Linked DNA regions of Homo sapiens: region 2 is linked to region 1. Evidence: promoter capture Hi-C in 16 types of primary human blood cells and fetal thymus (Javierre and others, 2016). All regions are on one chromosome and are shown on one strand. Each heading gives the region's core, a stretch centred on a gene start or on the middle of the fragment in contact. The rest is flanking DNA. Distances are from core to core; before and after follow the strand shown. Region 1 holds the start of BCL10 (BCL10 immune signaling adaptor). Region 2 overlaps PRKACB (protein kinase cAMP-activated catalytic subunit beta).

Region 1 (6,261 bases), core at 3,248-5,747:
TGGACTATTAACAATAGAAACCTAGCTGCACTTACTACTTCCTTCCCCCTCCTCAACATTTCTCCTTCAGGAGAAAATGGAAATCTGGAGTATTATATGAATTTTACTAAATTTTTTTTAAGGATCTCACTCTGTCACCTAGGCTGGAGTGCAGTGGCTTGATCATAGCTCACTGCAGCCTGGAATCCCTAGACTCAAGTGATCCCCATCTTAGCCTCTTGAGTAGCTAGGACTACAGGTGTGAGCCACCATGCCCGGCTAATTTTTAATTTTTTTTTTTTTTTTTTGTAGAGAAGGGATCTTTGCTACATTACCTAGGCTGGTCTTGAACTCCTGGCCTTAAGTGATCCTCCCACCTTATCCTCCTGAGTTGTTGGGATTATAGGTGTGGGCCACTGTGCCCAGCAAATTCTAATATTGAAATTTTGTTAATTTAGAAAAAAAATTAAAAACAATGTTCTGCCCTGTCTTAAAGGATAAAGTTCCTTTACGTGGCAGAAGAGTAGAAAAGTTAAGGGCATGGCTCTAAAGTTGGATCAACCTCAGTGCAAATCTTGAATCTAGTACTCACCCTTGTGAGAGCTGGGCCAAGTTACTTCACCACTCCAAGCTCCAGGTATGTTATTGATAAAATAAGGATTAAAAACTTAACTCACAGGACATCAAGGAGGACTAAATGGGAATACTATATATGAAGGCCACGCATAGTCTCTGTACACAGTAAGTACTCAATAATAACTAATTATGGAAGACAAGGTTCATTGATAATATGGCTCCTACCTACCTCTCCAGCTTAATCTATCACTACCTTTGTCCTGAAAATTTATGCTCTACCTAAAACTATCTGTCTCTCTACATTTCCTTACGTATTTTTTGTCTGCTTTTATCAGACCCTAAAGCCCCTATTCGTCCTTTAAGATTTAGGTCAGTGGTCATCTTCTTTGGAAAGGTTTACCTAACTCCCCAGAATGAGTTAGGCACCCCGTCCTCTGTCCTTGTAGCACCTTGTGTATACACTTCATCTTTCTATACACCAGGACTCCACTTCTTTCACCTCATTTCCCAATTCATTCCCAGACATTTCCATCCTGCCCCAGTATTCTTCTCGAAGTCACCAATGACCCCCTTATTGCCAAATATTTTCAGTCTTCATTTCATTTTTCAGCTGCATAAACACAGTTGACTACTCCCTCCCTGAAACAAGAAAATTGTTACATGAATACCACACTCTCCTGGTTTTCTTCCCATCCCTGTGGATACAACTTTTCAATCATTTTCTTGTTGTTGTTGTTACCCTACTTTCAAGCTAACAATTCACTTTTTAAAATTCTTCTCTTTAAAGGGTTTTACACCATTTTTCTCTTCTAGCTCACAGCTTTCTAGGTAAAATCATTCAATTCCACACTTACATTTCTAGCTCAGATCTCTCTTCTGATCTTTGACTTTGCAGATGTAATTGCTGATCTGACATTTCCATGTACTAATCTAATTACATCCTCTTCCTCAACTCCCATGTTCAATCCATCACCAGGTCATATCATTTCTATTTCAAAAACTGCATCTGGAATTCTGCTCCATTCATCTCCACTGCCTTCACCCTGATCCAAATCACCATCCTCATTCATCTCTATAGATTCCAAGAGCCTGCTCACTGGCTTCCCTGTTCTTATTCTTGTTCTCCTCAGTCCATGAAACAGGCAGAGGGATCTTTAAACTATACAATTCTTCAACAAGTCCCTACTATACTTGGGGGGAAAAAAACCCCAGATACTTTACTAAAAGGCTCTTCATGAAAATGGCTCTAGCCCACCTTCCTAACTTCACTTCAGATTACCCTCTGCCTTCCTCCGATTTCCCCAAGTCACCAGGGTCTTGCCTATTTTAGGTCCTTGACAAATTCTATTCTGCCCAGAATGCTCTTCCCTCAGTTCTGTCAAATCTTTCAGGAATCAGTTTAAATATAACCTCTCCTGACCATCCTATCTCAAGTCGATTTCCCCTATTATTGTCTTGGCACTGTTTGATTCCTTCATAGTAATTGCAATAATGAAAACAAAATTTATTTATTTGTTTTAAACTAACGTCTCTGTTTGAAGCAGGCAGCTACGAGGTATGTTTTAGCCAACACTGTATATCCTGCACTTACTAGGGCACCAAGTAGTTAATGTTTCAGTTGAATGCAAAACTCACTGCACTTATTTTGTGATTTAAAACAATCCCCCTCAAGAAATTGAGCTCTTTTCAAGTTAGGATTGTGTTTTCATTTTTAATTTTTGAACTGTTAGAACCAACCACAGTATCAGCCTCACAGTAGCATGTAATCCATATTTATTAAACTGTACTAAATCCAACTAACACAATGAGGCAAATAACTAGATAGGAGGAGGGGGAGACACTAAAGAAGTGGGAGGTCCCAAGACAAAGGGTGGTAGCACACCATTCATCAAGAAAGGCAATACAGCAGCAACAGTAAGCAACTTTGGGAAAAGGATAGTAAAAGTTCAATATTTGACAAGGTGAGCAATCTGTAGGATATAAAAGTAGATTTCCAGTAGACATTTGGAAATAAGGACCTAGAGTGGAGAGAAAAGTCCAAATATGTGGATAATTTTAAAACTCTCTAAGATCAGAAGACATTTTGAAAATATCATGAAAAAAACCTCTAAGAAAAAAGCATGCACATAGTTTCTTTCATAGACCTTTTGAAACCCATCCATGGTTTCCTCAAGGTTATTTATTTCTGATATAGGCGTAAAATGAAATCCTGAAGACAGATAACATCAATGAATTGACAGAGAAGAACAAAGACCTGGAAGCCACTCTTCACATCTGTACTTGTATACAGATCTTATTTCCTTCCACTTGTAATTTCTCAGTTCCTGTTTTATTAGCTGTAAAATGGGAATGGCAATTATCTTCTTTAGAGGTTGTTGCGAAGGTTAAGTGGGAACATTGTAAACTGTGTGACACAGCATCTGGAACATAGGAGGCCTAGCTCTTGGAAGTTCAAGGTTTTACTGGCACTCACCATGAATAAGACAACATTTATTCTACAGTAGTTATTTATGTTCCATTCTTATCTCAACTAGAATGTAAAGCAGGAAACTGATCTTCATTTTTTTGTATCCTTCCAGACCCAAGGCCAGTGCTTTCCATATAGCAAGTGCTCCATAAATCTCTGTTGAATGAGGAAACTAAGCACAACTCCCAGTCATATCCAGTTTCCTTCTGCTGGTGAGTCACACCAATTGTGAGTACAGTGTAATAAACCTTACAGGGAAGAGGAAGGGATTTGAAGTGGATGAACATTTAAAAAGTTGCCATCCTGTCCAGTTCATCAAAATGACTTTGTAAAAGTACTGCAGTGTTCAATAAGAACACGTTTCATGTTGAGTTTCTGTTTTTCATTTGACTTCAGATAAAGTATTTTAGTGATACTCATATAGGTCTCATCTGACAAAACAAGTAAACGCAAAGGAAAAAGAATGTCATATCTCAACAAAGCCATTCGTTACGAATAAATATGAAGGTTTATGTGGTTCTGCACCATCCGAGAAGAGCATAATTTAGCTACTGAATATTTTCGACGTTTACCTGTACATTAATTCTCAGCTACGTGTATTCACTCCCCCAACCCCAATTTAAATATGTGGGCGTCTGCTTACTAGGGGAATTCCAGGTTGTGCTTTCAGCTGTTGAGCTTCCTCAAGCCCCCTTATGCAAAAGAGCTTCACATTTTTGGTCCACTGCTTGGGATCCTTCACCTGGTACAGCCTTCGCTCTAGGCTGAGTGAGCAGCCTAGGCAGCCTGACTTAAGGATGAATCTGAGCCGCCAGTCCCTAACGAAGCATCTCCAAGAACCCAGTTGGGGGGAAAGCATGAGGAGATGGGTGAGGAGTGGGCAAGAATCAAAACACCACTTGGCAACAAAGCCCAAGCTCTGCGTTTAGCGATGTAAAACCTGGATTGACAGATCACTGGAGGATCACTGCCACCAAGGTCCCTCGGATGCAGGGCTCGCCACAGTCCTCCTGTGCTAGGACTTTCCGCTCCTCCGACCTGGAGGATCCTCCTTGTCCTCGGACTCCAGGCTTCCGCTTTCGTCTCCCGCTGGGCTGCAGCCCGCCCCCGCCCGCCCTGGGCACAGCTGCGTTACTCACGTCCTTCTTCACTTCAGTGAGGTCCTCCTCGGTGAGGGACGGTGCGGTGGGCTCCATGGTGGAGGCGGGAGATGGCGCTTCTTCCGGGTCCGGGAGCTCGGGCTGCGCCGCCCCGCCCTGGCTGGGGGCTTCGGCCTCCGGGTAATGGGGAAGAAGGAGAGGAGGCGGAGCGGGTCGGGAGAAAGACGGCCGCCCCTTCGGGAACAGAGGGACTCGGGGGTCAAACCGTAGCGCTTCCGGCCCCGCCTCTGAGGTCGACGGCGACGCGAATCTACGCGACGCGACGCGGAGCTCGGAGCAGCGTTCCTTCCCTCTCGTAGAGGCTCAGGCGCAGGCACCGCCCCACGGCGAGGCGCGTCGCTTAGCAGAGCCCGCCCTGTCTCTGCGGCAGCCTATCGACGCCAGCCCGCGGGCCGATCCTGTTCCCGCCCCCGACCGGAGCCTTTCGGGTGGCTCCGCCCACAGCGGGCGTTTCCTCAAGCCACGCCTGCGCAGGTCGTCGGTAAGTGGCCCGGGTTAGCTTCCTCATAAGGCATCGTTTCCGTGGGTGGGGTCCGTCAGTGCCCAGGCAGCTGGCACTCTCAGCCTTTGCTGCCTGCTCACTTCGGGGGAGTCCGGTCTGGGCTTGTCAGTACCTTGGGTTCCTCCCCTTTTCCCAGACCCTGCCCTACAATTTCCTGTTGTTACGTTTGCCAGTTACTGTTTTGGTCACACACAAACGCACTCATACACACATACACATGCATACACACAAACAGCCTAACTACAATACTAAACAAATTTTTGAAAGAAAAAAAGAAACCACCTACAATCCCACCACTTTAACACCTCATTTAACGTTTGCATACTTTTTGGTCACTGTTCATTATAAACATAGCTTTTCCTCATTAGTTAATCTGTGTAATGGAGATAGATATGCTTACCTTTTAGGGCTGCCGGGATCATATGTAAAGTTCTTAAAGGTAGTTGGGCACACAGTATGCACTCAACTGATTATTTATTTATTTATTGAGACAGGATCTCACTCTGTCGCCCAGGCTGGAGTGCAGTGGTGCGATTCTCGGCTCACTGCAGCTTCCACCTCCAGGGCTCAGGCGATCCTTCCACCTCAGCCACCAAGCAGCTGGGAGTCCAGCTAGTTTTTTTGTATTTTTTATAGAGATGGAGTTTCGCCATGTTGCCCAGGCTGGTCTCAAACTCCTGGGCTCAAGCCATCCACCCGCCTCGGCTTCCCAAAGTGCAGGGACTACAGGCATGAGCCACCCAGCTCATCCTACTCAAACATTTATTGAGTCCTTACTAATATGTTCTAGGCAACTTATACTATGAGTCCTCCATTTTATAGGGGGAGACTGATGAAGAGACGACTATCCCCAGACCGTATTTTAACTACTATGGCGCTGTGTAAGAAGCAACCTGAGAAGTGTGGATGAAAAGCTACAGGTAGAGCCCTGGGCCCAAGACGGTGGCTTGGACAACATGCTAAATAAACTATAAACTAGATGGTATTTGAAGCTACGAGAGTAGATAAAAATGACAGGAGGACCAAGGAGAAACTTGGGAACGCCAATGTTTAAGAAACGGGAAAGCAAAAAAAAAAAAAAACACACACAAAAAAACAATGTAACCAGAGCCACAAAAACCAGAATCACAGCAAGGGATTCTGATGTTTACATTATGTCCTGTTTCCATGTTGACACATTACACAAGGACAGTTTTTTTCTAATTGCTTAATTTTTCATCATCTTCCATCCGATTTACTGAACCATCCTTAACTTTAGGATGAATCCTTTCATTTAACAAATGTGTTTTGAATGTCCACTATGTGCCAGACACTGTTCTAGGTGCTAGGAAAACAGCTGTGAACAAAACCAATAAAAATCTCTTTCCTCATGGAATTTATATTCTAGTTTATTTGTGTTTGGGGCAGACGAGGTAGGCACTTGAAAAATTTTATCTAAGTTTATTTATTTATTTATTTGGAGACAGAATCTCGCTCTGTCACGCAGGCTGGAGTGCAGTGGCACGATCTCTGCTCACTGCAACCTCCTCCTCCCAGGTTCAAGTGATTCTCCTGCCTCAGCCTCCCCAGTAGCTGGG
Region 2 (6,046 bases), core at 516-3,015, 1.1 Mb before region 1:
ATTTTTATTTATTTGGCGAATGAGTTATAGAAGGAGTTCTGACTGTACAAAGTTTCATATGAACCACATTCTTCAAAGCTACTTAAAGCAGTTTACTTGCATGACTCATTTGACAAGGGAATGTAATGTCTCCTGATGATAAACACTGAATATGTTTGTTCCTAAAGTGTTTTTATAATGAAATAAACTAAGCATAGAAACTACATCAATTTACAAAAAAAATTCATAAACCTTTGTATAAAGATCAGTTACCAATTTAGGAGACATGAAATGCAGCATGCTTCAATCCAAGTTTCTTTCGTGTCCAGTGACATTATGTATAGGAAGAAACACAGAACAAAGGCCACATAGTGGTCTCAGGTGTTTCATCTTTTACTATTAAACTAAGTAACAGAAATTCCTGTTTGATTAAATAAATATGTAACAGCTAATTGCATGCACATATAAATACATGAAGTTCAAAGAAAAGCATGGAGGAATTCTGCTTTTTGTTCCAACTCAGAATGAATGAGAGCATTGACATGCGTTAAGTTCTCTTTCTAGCAAATTTATTATAGTTAGCTTTTTAATCTTCCTTTGATCATAAATGTGTAGAGTTATACAATGCTGACTTAATGAAGGTCTAACTACAGTATTTTAAGAAGCAAATAGGTCAATACCATCAAATACTTTTTCTTTCCCTTTTCCTATGAATTGACAGGCTATTTCTCTTGTAAATACAAATCCATTTTAGTAAATCTTAGATTTAAATATATTAAACAAATGAGCAGTTTTGATTATGGATGTCCTCTAGCAAAATCATAAAGTGGTTACAGTAGACCACTTCAGTCAGTTTTACCTTTGCAAATTTTATACAATCTCTCAGACAGTTTACCTCCTATTTGTTAGCCCATTGAATCTGTATCATTTTAACTTCTCAGCTAAAAGACTTTCCACCTTTGTCTTTTTATCAGCTTTTTCCACTTGAAACTATTCCATAAGCTTCTTGATAATAGTCAATTTCTACTCATTTGGTAAAACTTTTTTGAGTATTTACTATATCATAGTAAGTAAGCAAGTTTCCAGGAAAAATAAGATCTAGTTCTTACCCCCAAAAAGAAGAGCAAACATAATATAATATTCAAGGCATAATGAAATAGTTGCTTTAAAATGTCTAAGCTTACTGTGGAAGCTAAGTGTAAGAAAAAAGTTGTTACTAAAGAGAAAATGGGGGACTTCAAAAATATTAAAGAATGAATAGAATTTTGAGACCTAGAGAAGAAGGTTATTTTAAGAAAATAACATACACAAGTATTTGAAAATATGAACATTTAGAACTTACTTAAAAGGTTTAGTAAGATACTGTCTAGAAAATTAGGTTCTGGATTTAAACTTTAAAAGTTTTCTATTAGACATCCAGAATTTTGTACTACGCTGTATTAGTGGGGAGCCAATGCAGTTTTTTAAAGTGGAAAATAATATAATGCAACCTTTGTTAAAAGAGCCTAAAGATTTTAACTAGCATAATACAGGATAAGTTAACTTACTTTACTACAGAGAAATGTGTATAGCTACTATACATCTTCCGTTTTTGCTGGGCATTTAATTAGAACTAACGCTTTTGACGTGACAGTCAGCATGGCAATGAATAGTCAGATAATGGATTCCTTTTACAACAGTGCTTGTTCAAGTTGCTGCTTCTGTCTGGAATTCTCTTTCTTCACTTCTACCAGTGGTGAGATTTGCCCATACTTTAGGCATCCTCTCAGGTATCATCTCTGTAACAAAACCACCAATGTATCCTATTCATCTATCCTTCATCCTTCTTAGAGTCTGTGCTCTTCCTTATGTTCTTATATCATCTTATACTTAACTTTTATTGTGGTTTATTTATAGTATTTATATGGTATAGTTTGTATACTATATATATTATAGTTTATAATATTTAAAATGCATTACTATTAATCCTTATGTATCTGTCTCTCATGTTTGATTTTGAACTCCTTGAAGGCAAATAACTTGTCAGTTTATTTCAGTATTACTAGCATAATTTTCAATAAATCTTGAGTTATTTGTTAAATTAACATTAAACATCACTGCAGTATTACACAAATGAGCTTCTTACTAATTTGTGCTATTGTGATCTTTGCAATTTATTTTAAAAGCCCATGGCCATTAACCAAAAGCAGTCAAATGCTGACCTGGCTCTAGTAAATACCAATTTTCAGTGTTACCTGTGTATTTTTATCATGATTTCCAATAAAAATTTAAGTAACAAGCAGACTTTATAGTAAAACTAAAATAGTTGGGATATTAAATGATGTTGAAATCAGGAAATCATTCCATGAGCCATTTAGCAATGCAAGTACTATATCAACTGTACTAACATAACGAGAAGCTTTTACTTGCTTGTGCTTTGCAAAAATAGCCATATGACAGAGTTAGAAGACAGCTTGCTACTCAAAGTGTGGTCCCTGTCCAGCATTATTAGCATCTCCTGGGAGCTTGTTAGGAGGAAGAATCCCAGGTCCCACCTAGACCTACTTAGTCAGAATCAGCATTTTAACAAGATTTCCCAGCTGATTTATATGCACATTAAGGTGTGAGAAGCACTTTTTCCCTAATAACATTTTAATATGATTTCCAAATGTATATCTTCACTGGAGAAAATTTTGAAACTACAGGAAAAAACAAAAAGGTAAAAAAAAGTATACATAATTCTGCCAAAAGGTAATGACTGTTAATTTTTGTATATATACTCTATTTTGTGTATAGACACACAAATTTCTACCAGCTCCAATTTTTTTTTTTTAAACAGAGTCTTACCGTGTCACCCAGGCTGGAGTGCAGTGGTGGGATTTCGACTCGCTGCAGCCTCTGCCTCCCAGGCTCAAGCGATCCTCCCATCTCAGTTTCCCAAGTAGCTGGGACTATAGGCATGTGCCACCATACCCGGCTAATTTTTTGTATTTTTGGTAGAGGTGGAGTTTCACCATGTTGCCCAGGTCGATCTTGAACTCCTGAACTCAAGTGATCTGCCTGCCTTGGCCTCCCAAAGTGCTGGGAATACAGGCCTGAGCCACTGCACCCAGCCCAGCTCCAGAATTTGGATCTTTCAAAACATAATGTTTAGTTAACATTTTTCTTTATAAAGAGTTGTTCTACAATACTATTTTGTATTAAATCATAAGGATATACTATAATTTATTTAACCAATCATTGGCCATCTAGGCTGTTTTTAATGTTTTGCTATTAAAAAATGCCATGATAAACATCTTTATAACTAAATATTTGTACATATTTAGGATTATTTTTATATTTTATAGGATTAATTTGAAGAAGTTATGACCATTTTAAGGCTTTTGCATTAAATTAATTGAATCCCAGATAAACATGCATATCTTTTTGGAGTTAATTATTATAATAATTATTTTTTCATAGATTATAGCACTTGAGAATGTGTGAAAATAATTATATAGCTACTATCCTTAATGATATTTTTAAAAACAAATTTAAGGCCAGGTGTGGTGGCTCACGCCTGTAATCCCAGCACTTTGGGAGGCTGAGGTGGGCAGATCCCTTGCAGTCAGGAGTTCAACAACAGCCTGGCCAACATGGTGAAACCCTGTCTCTACTAAAAATGCAAAAATTAGCCAGGCTCCATCTACAGGTGTGGTGGCGCACACCTGTAATCCCAGCTACTTGGGAGGCTGAGGCAGGAGAATCACTAGACCCCAGGAAGCAGAGGCTGCAGTGAGGTGAGATTGCACCACTGCAGTCCAGCCTGGGTGACAGAGTGAGACTCTATCTCAAAATAAATTAAAATAAAATAAAATAAAGAAAACACATTTAACATTGTAAAATTTATTCTCAAAACAGTATATTGATATTTTTAAAAATTAAAAATATAATGGCCCATTATACTTCCTTCTGTTACAACTACCAGGGTCATGGTAAGAACATTATATGTTTGTCCCCTCCAAATCTCATGTTGGAATGTGATCCCCAGTGTTGGAGGTGGGGCCTAATGGGAGGCGTTTGGGTCATGGGGGAGGATCTCTCATGAATGGCTTGGTGTCCTCCCAATGGGTAATGAGCTGGTTCTTGCTTTATTAGTTCATGCAATAACTGGTTGTTTTTTTAAAACAAACATGGCACTTCCCCCTCTCTCTTGCTCCCTCTCTTTGCCTGTGACATGCCTGCTCCCTCTTTGCCTTCTGCCATCATTGAAAGCTTCCTGAGGCCCTCATCAGAAGCAGATGTTGGCAGTATGCTTCTTCTACAGTCTGCAGAACCATGAGCCAAAATAAATCTCTTTATAAATTATTCTGCCTTAGGTATTTCTTTATAGTAATGCCAAAATAGACCAGTCCATAACAAAAATCTGAATGTGAAAAATATGGATTTGAGAATTTAACTCCATTCTTAATAAGTTGACACTGGAAAGTTTATTTCTTCCTCCCTCCCCCTCAGCTTTATTAAGGTATACTTGACAAATAAAATTGCGTATATTTATAATGTACAACATGATGGTTCAATATAAGTATACATTGTGAAATGACTAAAACAAATGAATATCCACCTCACATAGTTACTTTTTCATGGCAAAAAATTTAAGATTGAATCTCTTAGCAATTTTCATGTAGTCATACCTCAGAGATACTGCAGGTCCAGTTCCAGACCACCACAATACAACTAAAGTCACAGTAAAGCAAGTCACACATTTTTTGGTTTCCCAGTGCATTTAAGTTATGTTTACTCTATAGTCTATTCAGTGTGCAATAACATTATATCTTTTTAAAAGTACATATCTTAATTTGAAATTATTTTATTGCTAAAAAAATACTAATGATCATCTCAGCTTTCAGCATTTCCCAATTTTTTTGCTGGTGGAGGGTCTTGCATTGATGTTTGCCTGCTGATTGATCAAGGTGATGGTCGCTGAAGGTTGGGATGGCAGTGGCAATTTCTTAAAATAAGACAACAAAGTGACACACTTGACTGACTCTTATTTTCATAAAAGATTTCTCTGTAGCATGTGATGTTTTTGGTAGCATTTTACCCACAGTAGAACTTCTTTTAAAATTGGAGTCAGTTCTCTCAAACCTTGTTACTGCTTTACCAACTAAGTTGATGTAATATTCTAAATTCTCAGGTGTCATTTCAATAATCTTCACAGCATCTTCACCAGAAATAGATTCCATCTCAAGAAACTACTTTCTTTGCTCATCTGCAAGAAGCAACTCCTCACTCGTTATAGTTTTATCAGGAGATTGCAGCAATAGAGTCACATCTCCAGGCTCCACTTTTAATTCTAATTATCTTGTAATTTTTTACCACATCTGCAGTGACTTTCTCCACTGAAATTTTAAACCGCTCAAACGCATCTATGAGAGTTGGAAACAACTTCTTCCAAACTCCTGTTGATGTTGATATTCTGACCTCCTCCCATAAATCACAATGTTCTTACGGCATCTGGAATGGTAACTCCTTTTCAGAAGGTTTTCAATTTACTTTGCCCAGATCCATCAGAGGAATCACTATCTGTGACACCTTTAGCCTTATAAAATATATTTCTTAAATAATAAGACCTGATCCATGCCTGCAGAATGGATGTTGTGTTATCAGGCATGAAAACAACGTTCATCTCCTTGTACATCGAGCTCTTGGGTGATCAGGTGCATTGTCAATTAGCACTAATATTTTAAAAGGAATCTTTTTCTGAGTGGTTCCCAATGGTGGGCTTAAAATAGTAAACAATGCTGCAAACAGATATGGTGTCATCTAGCCTTTCACATTCCATTTATAGAGTACAGGTAGAGTAGATTTAGCATAGTTTTTGAGGGCACTAAGAGTTTCTAAATGGTAAATGAATATTGGCTTCAATTTGAAGTCACCAGATGTATTAGCCCCTAGCGAGAGTCAGCCTGTCCTTTGAAGCTTTGAAGCCAGGCATTGCCTTCTCTCTAGCTAGGAAAGTTCTAGATGGCATCTTCTTCCAATAGAGCACTGTTAATTCTGCATTGAAAATCTGTTGTTTAGTCTAGCCACCTTCATCAATTATTTT

The links. The method cuts DNA at HindIII sites, captures the fragments that hold promoters and counts their contacts. A CHiCAGO score of 5 or more calls a contact.
Region 2: a contact is called between a fragment that was not itself captured here and the fragment with the promoter of BCL10 in region 1, in 1 of 17 cell types (activated CD4 T cells). The highest score is 6.2, in activated CD4 T cells.

The regions. Positions count from the first base shown.
Region 1 is chr1:85,272,135-85,278,395 of GRCh38, forward strand. BCL10 (BCL10 immune signaling adaptor) reads right to left here and starts at 4,498. Exons shown (of 3, transcript NM_003921.5): 1 at 4,162-4,498. The coding sequence starts at 4,218. It overlaps BCL10-AS1 (BCL10 antisense RNA 1), which reads left to right and starts at 4,224. Exons shown (of 2, transcript NR_045484.1): 1 at 4,224-4,663; 2 at 5,507-5,954. RefSeq lists enhancers at 3,691-4,890, 4,096-4,798. The HindIII fragment of the contact is 19,185 bases long and covers 1-6,261 here.
Region 2 is chr1:84,146,488-84,152,533 of GRCh38, forward strand. All of the region lies in intron 1 of PRKACB (protein kinase cAMP-activated catalytic subunit beta), which reads left to right. Among named protein-coding and RNA genes, the nearest start is that of PRKACB, 5.2 kb to the left of the region's middle. The HindIII fragment of the contact is 1,219 bases long and covers 1,157-2,375 here.